Linked DNA regions of Homo sapiens: region 2 is linked to region 1. The links are contacts of gene promoters, found by promoter capture Hi-C in human tissues and cell types (Jung and others, 2019). All regions are on one chromosome and are shown on one strand. Each heading gives the region's core, a stretch centred on a gene start or on the middle of the fragment in contact. The rest is flanking DNA. Distances are from core to core; before and after follow the strand shown. Region 1 holds the start of TLE2 (TLE family member 2, transcriptional corepressor). Region 2 holds the start of DOHH (deoxyhypusine hydroxylase).

What was found. The method cuts DNA at HindIII sites, captures the fragments that hold promoters and counts their contacts. A contact is called where the count stands out against the background at its distance.
Region 2: the fragment with the promoter of DOHH here is called in contact with the fragment with the promoter of TLE2 in region 1 in 1 of the 25 tissues and cell types used here (dorsolateral prefrontal cortex).

What each region holds. Positions count from the first base shown.
Region 1 is chr19:3,023,520-3,030,633 of GRCh38, reverse strand. It overlaps TLE2 (TLE family member 2, transcriptional corepressor), which reads left to right and starts at 1,354. Exons shown (of 20, transcript NM_003260.5): 1 at 1,354-1,753; 2 at 1,831-1,928; 3 at 2,252-2,315; 4 at 2,761-2,805; 5 at 5,552-5,614. The coding sequence starts at 1,730. The HindIII fragment of the contact is 30,131 bases long and covers 1-4,385 here.
Region 2 is chr19:3,497,348-3,504,503 of GRCh38, reverse strand. It overlaps DOHH (deoxyhypusine hydroxylase), which reads left to right and starts at 3,830. Exons shown (of 5, transcript NM_001145165.2): 1 at 3,830-3,943. It overlaps LOC105372245 (a long non-coding RNA gene), which reads right to left. Exons shown (of 4, transcript XR_936262.3): 3 at 6,891-7,146; 4 at 3,453-4,569. RefSeq lists an enhancer at 3,719-3,828. The HindIII fragment of the contact is 49,740 bases long and covers 1-7,156 here.

The sequences.
Region 1 (7,114 bases), core at 105-2,604:
AGGGCTCTTGTGCCCTTTTGTAAGGGTACAAAATGGGTTTTTGTAACCCTAACCCTTAGGTACCATTAGGTACTCGATCACCTAAGGACACAAGTCCAAGTGTCATCAAGGGGCATGGATTTTTCTCTGTTTTGTTCCCAGCTGTGCCCCAGTGTCTACAGCAGTGTGTGGTCCACAGTATGCATTTAGTACACGTTTGTTGATTGACTTCACAAACCTCTCCTGAGGTTTCTCCAAAGAGAATAAGAACTTCCCACTCCCCGGGTGGGCCTGAAGGATGCTGGCTGGATGTCTGTGGTCTCTGGTCGGGGCTGGAGCCTTTGCCGTGGGAGAGACTTGAGTCTGATGGCAGAGCTGTGGTTCTTCCAGTTCTGAGTGGGACACGGCTCCTGCCTTCAAGAAACCCAGTCTGAGAGGGGAGACAGCCCAGTCCACTGGTGATGGCAGTAGGAACACAATTCCCATCTGTGGAAGTTTGCTCTGTGTAGGGAGAGGCTGACAGCGTTCATGCACTATCTCATTTAAGTGCAGTGCCCAGTGCGGTGGCTCCCGCCCGTAATCCCAGCACTTTGGAAGGCCGAAGAGAGAGGCTTGAGTCCAGGAGTTCAAGACCAGCCTGGGCAACATAGTGAGACGCCCCCCTACTCCATCTCTGCAAAAAATTAAAAAATTAGCTGGGCGTGGTGGTGCACACCTGTAGTCCCAGCTACTGGAGAAGCTGAGGGGGAAGGATCGCTTGAGCCCAGGAGTTCGAGGCTGCAGTGAGCCATGATTGCCCCACTGTACTCCAGCCTGGGCAACACAGGGAGACCCTATCTCTGCAAAAAATTAAACCCTAAAGATAGCGCACCACCCCTGACCTTTTGCAGAGACTACTGAGGCCCCCAGAGGGCGAGGGCCCGGCATGATCTGGGAAGCAGTGTTTGCTGTGAGATTCCCTTTCTGGCAGGGTTCCCTGCCAGCGCTTGGCAAGGCTGCGTCCTGCTGACCCTTCAATCTCAACCCAATGTCACTTGCTCAGAAAAGCCATTTCCGACTCCAGACTGGTCCCCGCTCCCCGCAAGCCCCCCCCCCCGCTCCCACGGTGGGTAACACGGTGTGAATTTCTTCACTGGTTTTTCTTCTCCCGCCCCTCCGGGAGGGGGTGGGGACCCTGTTTTAAGGCACTGGGCGCCTCCCCACCCGGCCTCAGTTTCCCCAACGGCCCAGGGACTGAAGGAAGGGGGCGGGTGCCCGGGGGCCGGGGGGGGCGCGGGCGCGGGGAGGGGCGGTGCGCGGGGGTGGGCGCGGGGCGGGCCGCGGGCGCGTGGGGGCGGCGGCGCCACCTTAAGGCGGCTCAGCCCGCGGCTCCCGGCCGAGCCCCGCCGGAGGGAGGCGGCTCCGCGCGGGGCCCGCCGCCCGCGCCGCCGCCACCGAAACCCGGCCGCGGCGCGCCCGACCTTCTGCGCCGGCTGCCGCGGCCGCCCTCGCCGCGCTCCCGCCCCGGCCGCTGCCCCTGCCCGCCCCGCTCGCCCCGCGCACCCCAACCCGGGGAGGGGCTCCCACGACCCCGGGCGCGCGCGCTTGGGGGCGCGCCAGGGACTCCAGGGTCCCTTGCCCCGCGCCGCTTCTCCCTCCTCCCTCTTTCTTCGGGCAGCCTCCCCACCACCCCACTTCAGCCTCCCCCACTCTTGCCGCCTCCATATCATCAAGCTCTGGTGGCGCCTGGGGGGCTTTTCGGATCGGCAGGATGTACCCCCAGGGAAGGCACCCGGTGAGTGCGGACTGCGGGGAGGGGGCCCCCAGTGTCCGGGAACTCAGACCCTGACGTTTCCCCCACACCCCCCCCAGACCCCGCTCCAGTCCGGCCAGCCCTTCAAGTTCTCGATCTTGGAGATCTGCGACCGCATCAAAGAAGAATTCCAGTTTCTTCAGGCTCAATACCACAGGTGAGGGGGGCCGCCCCAGGGGCCGCGGGAGTTCACCTGGGCGCCGGGGCGGGGCGAGGCCTCCGGGGTATAGGGCGGGGAGGAGGGGCTCCCGGTTGGAGGGGGGGCGCGACAAAGGCCTCCAGGTGGAAGCGCAGGTGCAGAGGGGTCTGGGGACAGTCAGAGCTGGGGCATTTGGAGCCCAGGAAGGGGCGGGGAGGGACTGGGACAGGAGGTGGGGGGAGGTCTGTAAGGAAGTCGGGAGGGGGAGATCCAGCCTCTCACTTTGGAAGCCGGCCCACATGGGGCGGGTGGGAGCCCCTTGCCCTCTCTCTTCTTCTCAGCCTCAAGCTAGAATGTGAGAAGCTGGCCAGCGAGAAGACGGAAATGCAGCGACATTATGTCATGGTGAGGGCACTTATGATGCCAGGGTGAGGGGAGAGGCGGGCAGGGCTTTGAGTCACGGTGGACTCTGGGGTAGGTCCCTGCCCCACTCCGAACCTCGTCTTCCCCGTCTGTACATTGGGCAGGTTGGGATTTCAGGCTCTCTAGGAGGGTCCTCCCAGCTCTGGGAATGGGGAGACAGGGAGGACCCCTCGCCTGATGGGAGTCTCTGTCGGGCCAGGGCCTCTGGACACTTCCTACCTGCCCTGCCTCTCTGGGGAGAGTAGAGGGGGCCCTTCCAGGCAGAGCCCCCGCTTCCTCCTCTGGGACCCCGTGGAGCTGGGGGGGGCTCTGCTTCCTGCTGTGATTCCCCTGAACCTGGGGACTCTTGGAAGACCCTGGCATCACCTATCTGGAGGAGGGCACCCATCTCCACCCTAGACGTTCTTACTTGGTTTTTCCTTTGCAGTATTATGAGATGTCGTACGGGCTCAACATTGAAATGCATAAGCAGGTAACTGGGTTGGGGTTACGCGTGTTCAGGAGGGAGGGTGGGGGTCTGGAAGCCCTGAGAAGGACCCAGAGTGGGCAGCCGGGGCCAGAGCAGACCTAGGGAACACGGGTCTCATCCTGAAATCTCCGCAGAGGTCACAGAGGGCCCATCTGGGACCAGGAAGACAGATTTCAGCCTCGTGGAAGGAAAATGAGTCCCACCTTCTGAAGACAGTATCTAGCAGTTGGAGCGTCCAGCAGAGATGCAGGCAGTGGGCAGGGGCCACCAGGCATCCCCATCAAGGAGGGCACATAGCAGAGGCAGGGCAGCCAGGCCAGGGAGGCTGTGGAAGTGACTTCTGTCCTAGGAGGGAGCTGGATGGCCACTCTTAGAGGTCCCTTTCAACCCAGAAAGTCTGAAGTTTTGAGATGGACCCCAGGTTCTGTTGCTGCTTTGAAGCTTCTGAGATTGGTCTCAGTGTGATTGGCTGGAAGGTTCCAAGATTGTTCTCCAGGCCCTGAATTTGATGCCATGGTTCAGACTGTGACCCCACTACTCCAAAATAGACCTCAAAACTCTGTGGCTGTCTTCAGGGCTTTGAGATTGACTCCAGTGTCGTAAGGCTCTGAGCCTCTTCTGGAGCTTCTCAGTGTGATCCAAGGTTCTGAGACAGACTTCAGGGTTCTGAAATAGACCTCAGGGTTCTGAGATTGACCTCAAGGTTCAGAGATAGACCTCAGGGTTCTGAGATTGACCTCAGTGTTCTGAGATAGACCTCACGGTTCTGAGATTGACCTCAGTTTTCTGAGATAGACCTCAAGGTTCTGAGATAGACCTCAGGGCTCTGAGATTGACCTCAGGGTTCTGAGATAGACCTCAAATTTCTGAAATTGACCTCAGGGTTCTGAGATAGACCTCAAGGTCCTGAGATAGACCTCAGGGTTCAGAGATAGACCTCAAGGGTCAGAGATAGACCTCAGAGTTCTGAGATAGACCTCAAGGTTCTGAGATAGACCTCAGGGTTCAGAGATAGACCTCAAGGGTCAGAGATAAACCTCAGGGTTCTGAGATTGTCCTATCTGTGTACTGAGATGTGTTAAAAGGTTCTGAGGTGTTCCTGAACTTGTGATCTCAAGGTTCAGAGATAGACCTCAGGGTTCTGAGATAGACATCAGGGTTCAGAGATAGACCTCAGGGTTCTGAGATAGACAGGGTTCAGAGATAGACCTCAGGGTTCTGAGATTGACCTCAGGGTTCAGAGATAGACCTCAGGGTTCTGCGATTATCATATCTATGTGCTGAGATGTGTTAAAAGGTTCTGAGGCTATTCCCGAACTTCTGATCTCAAGGTTCTGAGATAGACCTAAAGATTTTTTTTTTTTTTTTTTTTTTTTAAATTTTGAGACAAAGTTTCACTCTTGTTGCCCAGGCTGGAGTGCAATGACCTGATCTTGGCTCACTGCAACCTCTGCCTCCTGAGTGCAAGCGCCTCTCCTGCCTCAGCCTCCCGAGGAGCTGGGATTACAGGCGCCTGCTACCATGCCTGGCTAATATTTTGTATTTTTAGTAGAGACGGGGTTTCTCCATGTTGGCCAGGCTGGTCTTGAACTCCTGACCTCAGGTGATCCACCTGCCTCGGCCTCCCAAAGTGCTGGGATTACAGGAGTGAGCCACCTTGCCCGGCCAATAGACCCAAAGATTCTAAAATTGACTTTAGTGGTCCATGCTTAATCCTGAGATCCTGAGACTGGCCAGTGGTTTCTAAAGGGATGAGAGGGGTCCCAAACTTCTGAGCTTCATGGGCTCCTAGATTCTATCAGAATATTAGAATCAATGAGCAGAACCTTGTATTGGGACTTCCCGGTGGCTGGGAAGGAGAAGGGGGTGGGCTGGGAGTGTGGGGTGCCTGGGGTTGCCCACCCTGGCATGCTTTCCTGCATGTGTGGGGGTTCTGTTGGTTCTGATGTGGGCAGGAGGGGGCTTGTCTGCTGAAGCATGGCGTGGTCCCATGGGTCCACGCAATAGACCCCCCTTTATGGGGTGCGGGACACCCTGGGATCCCAGTTCCACCCTCCTGGTGGGAATAGGAGACACAGACTTCGCCAGACACACAGCACACCTGTAACTCAGGCAGAGGCAAAGTCCGTGGCCATTGTATGCCCGCCCCCTTCCCCACCCACACGCCTTCTCGTCTGCTCAGCCTCTTTGGGGCACCTGGGCCCAGACCCTCTCCAGATGAAATCCTTCCCTTGAGTGTGGCGTGCTGAGATCTCCACCTGGAGGCATCCCCAGCTGGTAGATCAGTCCTGGGAAGCGGAGGAGACCAAGAAAGGGGCCTTGCCTGGGACAGACGTGGGCCAAGCCGGGGCTGGAATCTGGGACTCCAGGCGGAGGCCCCTTTCCTTTGTTTCAGCTGAGCCCAGCACCTCTGAGTGTCTGCGTCTGAGTTGGGTGTCTGAGCGTCTGCCTCCTGCAAATCCCTGGCGGGTGTGCGTCTGGCGGGTGGTGTATCTGTGACTCGTAGGACCTCAGCCCTGGTCTTCCCAGCTCCAGGCCACCCTGGGCCTCGCTCAGCTGAGCACGCAGCCTGGTGGGGCTCTGAATCCCACCTCGGCCCATGCCATGCTAGCCTGAGTTCCCTCTGTGCACCTGCGGGCGTCACCTCCCCAACCCTTCGGCTTTGCCAACACCTGGTCCGCCTGGGAGTCCAGAGCTGGGTTGCAAATCTCTACCCCGCTCCAAGCTTCCTCTCATTGCTTCCTGCCAGGCGGAGATTGTGAAGCGTCTGAGCGGTATCTGCGCTCAGATTATCCCCTTCCTGACCCAGGAGGTGAGTGGGCCTGGGGGTGGGGGGAGGAGGGGAAGGGAGCCGGAAGAAGACGGGAGGGGGTAGGTCTGGGCGAGGACGCCCCAGGCACTGATTCTGCCGCGTAGCCTGCAGCACGGATAGAGACCATTTTCACTGCAGTAGTCCCGCAGCCCTGAGGCCAGGCATCCCGCTGGGGCAGGGGCTGCAGGGATGGAGGGAGGTGTTGGCTGAGGGTGAGGACTGGGGGCTGTTTTCCCCCTTGATGGGAAGCAAGGCATAGAGCTGACCCCCTCAAGCCCTGCAAGTTGGCTGCCTGGGTCTGAATCCTGGCTGTGTGGCCTCAGGCAGGACACTTGTCTCTGTTTTTTCAGTAGCGTAGGTGTGAAGTTGAGATGAGCTCATACACCCAGGGTGCTGGAGATGATGGGTACGCTTACTCAGCACCTGATGAAAGTTAACCCTACCGTCTTGCTAGAAGAAGTCACTGAGGGACAAACACTGGGTGATCCACTCCTAGGAGGTCCCAGGGTCGTCAGGTTCACTGAGACAGAAAGCAGAATGGGGGGTGCCAGGGGTTGGGGAGGGGACGGGGAGTGAGAGTTTTATGGGGACAGAAATTCAGTTTGGGAAGATGGGAAAATTCTGGAGATGGTGCTGGGGATGGCTGCACAACCGTGTGTGTGCTTTATGCTGCTGAGCTGTGCACTTACAAATGGTTAAAATGGACTGTAATTCGGCCAGGTGCGGTGGCTCCTGCCTGTAATCCCAGCATTTTGGGAGGCTGAGGCAGGTGGATCACCAGAGGTCAGGAGTTCGAGACCAGCCTGTCCAACATGGTGAAACCCTGTCTCTGCTAAAACTTAAAAAAAAAAATTAGCCGGGCATGGTGGTGTTTGCCTGTAATCCCAGCTACTCGGGAGGCTGAGGCAGGAGAATAGAATTGCTTGAACTCAGGAGGCGGGGGTTGCAGTGAGCAGAGATTGCGCCGCTGCACTCCAGCCTGGGTGAGAGAGTTAGACTCCATCTCAAAAAAAAAAAAAAAAAAAGTTAGCTCTTCTGAGAGTGCCCCAGGTTCCTTTCATCCTCAGTACCTTTGCACAGTCCCTGTTTCTTTTTTCTTTTTCTTTTCTTTTGTGTGTGTGTGTGTGTGTGATGGATTCTTGCTCTGTTACCCAGGCTGGAGTGCAGTGGCATGATCTTGGCTGACTGCAACCTCCACCTCCTGGGTGCAAGCGATTCTCATGCCTCAGCCTCCTGAGTAGCTGGGATTACAGGCGTGCACCACCACGCCCGGCTAATTTTTGTATTTTTAGTAGAGACGGGTCTCCCTATGTTGCCCGGGCTGGTCTCGAACCCCCGGACTCAAGCAATCCGCCCGTGTCAGGCTCCGAGTGTTGGGTTTACAGGTGTGAGCCACTGTACCCAGCCTGCACTGTCCCTGTTTCTGTGTGGTACGTTCTCTCTTCAGAGAGACGTGAAAGATAGTTCTACTTCAGAGTGGATACACTGGGAGGATCCTTG
Region 2 (7,156 bases), core at 2,581-5,080, 470 kb before region 1:
AGTGTAGGTTGCAGTGAGCCCAGATCATGCCACCACACTCCACCTTGGGTGTCAAAGCAAGACTCCGTCTCGGAAAAAAAAAAAAAAAATTTATGTGATGATGGCTGCCCGACTCTGAATATACTAAACACCACTGAATTATCACTTTACACAGATGAATTGTACAGTATGTAAACTATATCTCAATACAGCTGTTATTTAAAAAGTTCTTGCCCGGCGCAGTGGCTTGCGCCTATAATCCCAGTGCTTTGGGAGGCCAAGGAGGGCGGATTATGAAGTCAAGAGATCGAGACCATCCTGGTCAACATGGCGAAACCTCATCTCTACTAAAAATACAAAAATTAGCTGAGCGTGGTAGCACGCGCCTGTAATCCCAGCTTCTCGGGAGGCTGAGGCAGGAGAATCCCTTGAACCCGGGAGGCGGTGGTTGAAGTGAACCGAGATTGCACCACTGCACTCCAGAAAAAAAAAAAAAAATCCCCTTTGGAGCTGAGTTAAGGAGAAAAGAGAACAGGGAAAAGGAGGAGGCAAGAGGTTACAGTTTCAGATGCAGTGCTCGGGGATGCTCTTATTGCAAAGATGATGTTTTAATAAAGATCTGAAAGAGGAGCTGGGCGCAGTGACTAACGGCTGTAATCCCGGCACTTTGGTAGGCCGAGGTGGGCAGATTACTTGAGGTCAGGCCTTCAAGACCAGCCTGGCCAACATGGTGAAACCTCATCTCTACTAAAAATACAAAAATTAGCCGGGCATGGTAGCAGGCCCCTGTATTCCCAGCTACTCGGGAGGCTGAGGGAGGAGAATCGTTGGAACCCGGGAGGCAGAGGTTGCGGTGAGCTGAGATCGCGCCACTGCACTCCAGCCTGGGCAACACAGCAAGACTCTGTCTCAGAAGAATAAAATAAAAGGAGAGGAGAGGGAGATTCTAACACAGAAACACAGAGACAGACACACAGGGGTCAAGGCCAGGTGATGACAGTGGCAGAGATTGGAGTGACGAAGCCACAAGCTGAGAAACACCAAGGACTGGCGGCCACCCCCAGAAGCTGGAAGAGGCAGGAAGGATCCTCCCCTGGAGCCTCCAGAGAGGCCACAGATCTGCAGATACCTGGATTCCAGACTTCCGCCCCCCAGGGACTTGCTCAATCCCAGAGGACCCACCGAACAGAAGACGCAGACTTGGTTCTTCTGTGCTATCAGTTTCTCGAAGGTCTACAGAGGCCAGATGCCAAGTTCTCTGACTTACACAGGCCTTGCTTTTGGCTGAGGCTTCGATATCTGCGTCCTGCACCCTGGGATTATCTCCTCCTGGGGAGCATCCTTGGGGCCAGTCACACCTGGCACCCTGCCCTCGTAGCCTTCCTGAGTCAGCACAGCTCCTGGTCCACGGGAAGTCCTCCGTAAACAGCCTGAGCCACAAACATGTTGAGATGACGTCCTCGCAAGGCAGCTGAGGGCTGCAGTGATGCCTGTTATCTGCAGTCAGTTTTCCAACACATAGGAAGGCAATACAATAATTTAAAAAAAAAAAGGGGGGGTGGGCCGTGCACGGTGGCTCACGCCTGTAATCCCAGCACTTTGGGAGGCCGAGGCGGGCGGATCACGAGGTCAGGAGATCGAGACCATCCTGGCTAACACGGTGAAACCCCGTCTCTACTAAAAATACAAAAAAATTAGCTGGGCTTGGTGGTGGGCACCTGTCGTCCCAGCTACTTGGGAGGCTGAGGCAGGAGAATGGCGTGAACCCAGGAGGCGGAGCTTGCAGTGAGCTGAGATCGCCCCATTGCACTCCAGCCTGGGTGACAGAGCGAGACTCTGTCTCAAAAAAATAAAAGTGGGGGTGTCAGCTCCATGAGGCCAGACACTGTGTCTGTTTTGTCCTGTGTCCTCTGTGCCCAGGACACTATCCTCTGTGCTCAGGACACTGTCCAGCACACAGTAGTTGCTCAATAAGTATTTGTGAATGTTGTCTTAAAATAGAAGTTGGCCTTCCAAAAGGATTTCTTTGCTATGCACAGCATTTTATGTTTTTTCATTAATTTTTATTTAATTATTTTTTTGAGATGGAGTCTCACTCTGTCACCCAAGCTGGAGTGCAGTGACGCGATCTTGGCTCACTGCAACTTCCGTCTCCTGGGTTCAAGTGATGCTCCTGCCTCAGACTCCTGAGTAGCTGGAATTACAGGCACCCGCCACTAGGCCAAGCTAATTTTAGTATTTTTAGTAGAGATGGGGTTTCAGCATGTTGGCCATGCTGGTCTTGAACTCCTGACCACAAGTGATCCACCTGCCTTGGCCTCCCAAAGTGCTGGAATTACAGGCGTGAGCTACAATGCCCAGCCATGTTTTTTTATTAATTGCTCATTTTTTTTTTTTTTTTGAGATGGGGTCTTGCTCTGTCACCCAGGCTGGAATCCAGTGGTGTGATTACAGCTCACTGGATCCTTGAACTCCTGGACTCAAGCTATCAAGCCACCTGAGTAGCTGGGCCTACAGGCATGAGCCACCAGGCACAGTTGATTTTTTTTTTTTTTTTTTGGAAATGGAGTCTTGCTCTGTTGCCCAGGCTGGAGTGCAGTGACAGGATCTCAACTCACTGTAACCTGTGTCTCCCAGGCTCAAGCGATTCTCCTGCCTCAGCCACCCAAGTAGCTGGGATTACAGGCTGAGCCACTGCGCCCAGCCAAATTAAAAAAAATTTTTTTTCTGTTGAGACGGGGGCTTACCACATTGCCCAGGCTGGTCTTGGAATCTTGGGCTCAATCGATCATCCTCTCACCCCACAGCCTCCCAAAGTGCCAGGATTACAGGTATGAGCCACCACTCCTGGCAGTCACCCACATTTTAAAAATAAGAGATTGCAAGCAGGGCACAGTAGCTCACGCCTGTAATCCCAGCACTTTGGGAGGCCAAGGCAGGTGGATCACCTGAGGTCAGGAGTTTGAGACCAGCCTGGCCAACATAGTGAAACCCTGTCTCTACTAAAAATACAAAAAGTTAGCTGGTGTGGTGTTGCATGCCTGTAATCCCAGCTACTCGGGAAGCTGAAGCCTTTTTGTATTTTTAGTAGAGATGGGGGTTTCACCATGTTGGCCAGGCTGGTCTCGAACTCCTGACCTCAAGTGATAACACCCACCTCGGCCTCCCAAAGTGTTGGGATTACCGGTGTGAGCCACCGTACCCGGCCTCTTTCAGGTCTTTCTTCAGATGTCACCACCTCAGATTCTGGCCACCCTTCCTGAAACTGCACACCCTATACATACACCGCCCTTGGCTACCGAATTTTTTCTCGTTAGCCTTTTTCACCATCTAATAGGTATTGCATTTACTTATCGTGTTATTTTCTGTCTCTATAACAACACTGGGAGGCGTACGAGGGTAAGGGCTGAAGGCTCTCTTGTCCTCAAGGCCATGTACTATTTATTACATACATGAATGAATGAACGACTGCATTTCTTCCTTTTTTTATTCCTCACCTACTTAAGGTTCGAGCTCCCTGAGCCCATTGGCCAACACCTCTGGAGTCTGACCACGCCTAGAAACACTGCGCATGCTCCGTTGCTAGCCAGCCCAGGCAGGGCGCTGAATCGGCACAAACCAGTCTCACTTCTTGTACCGCAGTGGGGAGGTTGGAGAGAATTTTTTCCCATGAAAGGGCATACGTTGCCCGTCCCCTTCCCCGAAGAACGCACTAGGAATACTGTTCCTGCGTTTGCATGAGCTGTGGCACCAGCACCGACTCAGCCTTCCGGGCCTCCCTCATGCACGGAGCCTCTCACTAGGTCTCACCCGCGGCTGCGTTGGTGCCGTCCGGCACGGTCACGTGGGCGAGAAAATGGCGGCCCCCAGACCGCACTGCGGGCGTCGCGGCAGGTGAAGCGGTGGTGGCAGAGGCGCCTGCGGTTACTGGCCGGGCCGACGGGTCCTGAGTCTCCAGAGCTCGGTGAGGCGTCCCGGAGGCGGCGATCACGGTGTGGGGCCCGGGTCTGGCGGGCGGTGGCACCGGGAGCGCCTCGTTAGGGAATCCGGTCTCAGGGATTCGTTGACTGTGGATGGGGCGGGTTAAGGGGTCTCGAGTCCCGGCGATCTCTTTCCTCTGGGATTTTTTACATGAAAGAGTGCCCACCTCACGTCCTGAAGCTCCTATGTCGTACGGTTGGGTCTCAATGGTCCCCAGTGCCCTGCCAGCTCGCACAGGCCTGCCCTCTGGTTTCTGATGACCCCTCTTTAAAGGTGTCACTCTCCTTTGATGGTCACCTGTGCTTAGGTGGCTACACTGCCCTCGTCAAGCCCAGGCAGCCTTGCTGACGCCACTGTTCACCAGAGAGGGCTGCCAGCATGCCATAGCCAGCCTGTCTTGAGATGAAGCATCCGCCAGGTTCTCAGCCGATCTGGAAAGAGAGGGGTCCCTTCTCCCCTTGGCTGTGTTCTTTTATCCTAAGTCATTCAACAAAGCGTTGGTGGTTTAGAGCCCGACTCTGGAGCCAGACTTCCTGGATTCCTAACTCTTCACGCTGCTCCCAAGCAAGTTCCCAAGCACAGTCCCAAACTGTGCCTCAGTTTCCTCACCTGTAAAATGGGGACAATCTTAGTAACTACCTCACAGGGTAGTGATGTAGATCGAATGAATTAATGAATGTAAAGAGCATGGAGTGCCTGGCGCGTAGCAAATGCTACATAAGTGTCAGCTGCTATTGTCACGGTTGTCGTTTTTATTTTATTTATTTATTTTGAGACAGGGTCTTGCTTTGTAGCTCAGTCTGGAATGCAATGGCACGATCTCGGCTCACTGCAACCTCCGCCTCTCGAGTTCAGGCGATTCTCCTACCTCAGCCTCCCGAGTAGCTGGGATTACAGGCGCCCACCACCACGCCCAGCTAATTTTTGTATTTTTAGTAGAGATGGGGTTTCACCATGTTGGTCAGCTGGTCTCGAACTCCTGAACTCAGATGGTCTGTCCACCTCGGCCTCCCAAAGCGCTGGGATTACAGGCGTGAGCCACCGCGCCCAGCCGGTTATTGTTTTTATTGAGGCCCTACTGCGTGCAGGTCATTGCACTAAGTGCTGGGAATACAACAGTGACCAAGATAGACTCAGTCCCAGCCTTCAGAGTTCTATTCTAATGAGGGATAAGACCAATCACAAGCAACTAAACCAATACTTTCCAATATGATATCTAGGAGTCTTAGGCGCCGTGGAGAAAAATAAAGCTGAATAAGTGAAAAGAGATGGAAGAGTAACATTGTCCATTGTGATCAGGGAAGGCTTCCATGAGGAAGTGATGTTGGAGACCCAGGAAAGCAAGAGGATGAGCACGGGTGTTCCTGGACCAAACTGAGGGTCGGGCTGCTATTTCTCATGGTCCAATAACGAGATGCAGATTAACTGGGGAGGAAGAGAGTTTTTATTTCTGTAACCGGTTACAGGGAGAAGGCCTGGAAAATATCGCCAGACCAACTCAAAATGACAAAGTTTTCCAGAGCTTATATACCCTCTAAGCTCTCCATCTACATGTAACTGAGCATCCATCTAAAGACTTAAAGTGACTAACTTCTTTTAATCTATAACTAAGATCTGAATCCTGAAGACTTTCCTTTGGAACCTCAGTAAATTTACTTAATCTAAATGGGTCCAGGTGCTGGGGTGATCACCCTTATCTCATCTCCAGTGGGTCCAGGTGCTGGGGTGATCATCCTTATCTTGTCTCCTGCTAAATCATGGAGGTTTGGGGAGTTCTTCAGACACCCAGTAAAACTTGTTTCATCCTAAACGGGTCACATTAAGAATTCCTTCGTTATTGGCTGGGTGTGGTGGCTCAAGCCTGTAATTCCAGCAGTTTGGGAGGCTGAGGCGGGTGGATCACCTGAGGTTGGGAGTTCGAGACCAGCCTGACCAACATGGAGAAACCCTGTCTCTACTAAAAATACAAAATTAGCCGGGCATGGTGGTGCATGCCTATAATCCCAGATACTCGGGAGGCTGAGGCAGGAGAATCACTTGAACCCTGGAAGCATAGGTTGTGGTGAGCCGAGATAATGCCACTACACTCCAGCCTGGGCAAAAGAGCGAAACTCTGTCTCAAAAAAAAAAAAATTCCTTCATTATCTTGTCATGCCTTAAGGCCCAGGAAAGGCCTGGGCAAAACTCTTCATGGGCTTTTGTTACATTCCAGCCTTTGTATGAGGGCACTGGCTCTTTTAGCTTTTAATGTTTAACTTAACCACTCAGTCAGTGCTGAAACAGTTATGGAGGCCTGTGTTAGTGAGGCCTGGCCTGCTACGTGGGGACATCTAGGGAAGAATGTTCCTCATGGAGATCACAGCAAATGCAAAGGCCCTAGGGCTGCACTGGGCCTGGCGTGTTGGAGGAACAGCGAGGAGGCCTGTGTGGCTGGAGTGGAGCTAGAGAGGGAAGAGGTGATGGGAGATGGTCATGAAGGGCCTTTGGGACTGTCAAGTAGTTGAGTGAGGAGGCATAGGAGGATTTTAAGCAAGGGAGTGATATGGTCCAGTTTACATATTGAAAGTACTTCTGAATCTGTTATCTAAGCTGTGTAACAAAAATCCCCATAATGGCTGGGGGTAGTGGCTGATGCCTGTAATCCTAATGCTTTGGGAGGCTGAGGCAGGATGATCACTTGAGCTTGGGAGTTGGAGACCAGCCTGGGCAACATAGAAGTGAGACCCCATCTCTACAAATAATAAAAAAAAAATTAGCTGGGCATGCTGGTGTGTGCCTGTAGACACAGCCACTAGGAAGTCTGAGGCAGGAGGATCACTTGAGACTGGGAGTTCGAGGCTACAGTGAGCCGTGATCATGCTGCCGTACTCCAGCCTGGCGACAGAACAAGATCCTGTCTCAAAAACAAACAAAAAAACATACTTGGTTACCTTCAACAACAGTAAACAGTGTCGCACACAGTTGCTCTGGGCCTGGCTTAGCTGGCTGGCTCTGGGTCTGGCCTCTGGTAAGGCCTCAGTGGAGACGCTCTGGGGCTGCATCATCTGAAGGTTCGCTTGGGGCTGGACGAGCTGCTGCCAGCCCACTTCTCTCACATGGCTGTTGGTGGGAGGGCTCAGTTTTTTGCCACGTGGGCCCCTACAAAAGACTGCTTGAGCATCCTCACAACATGGTCACTGGCTTCCCCTAGAGAGAG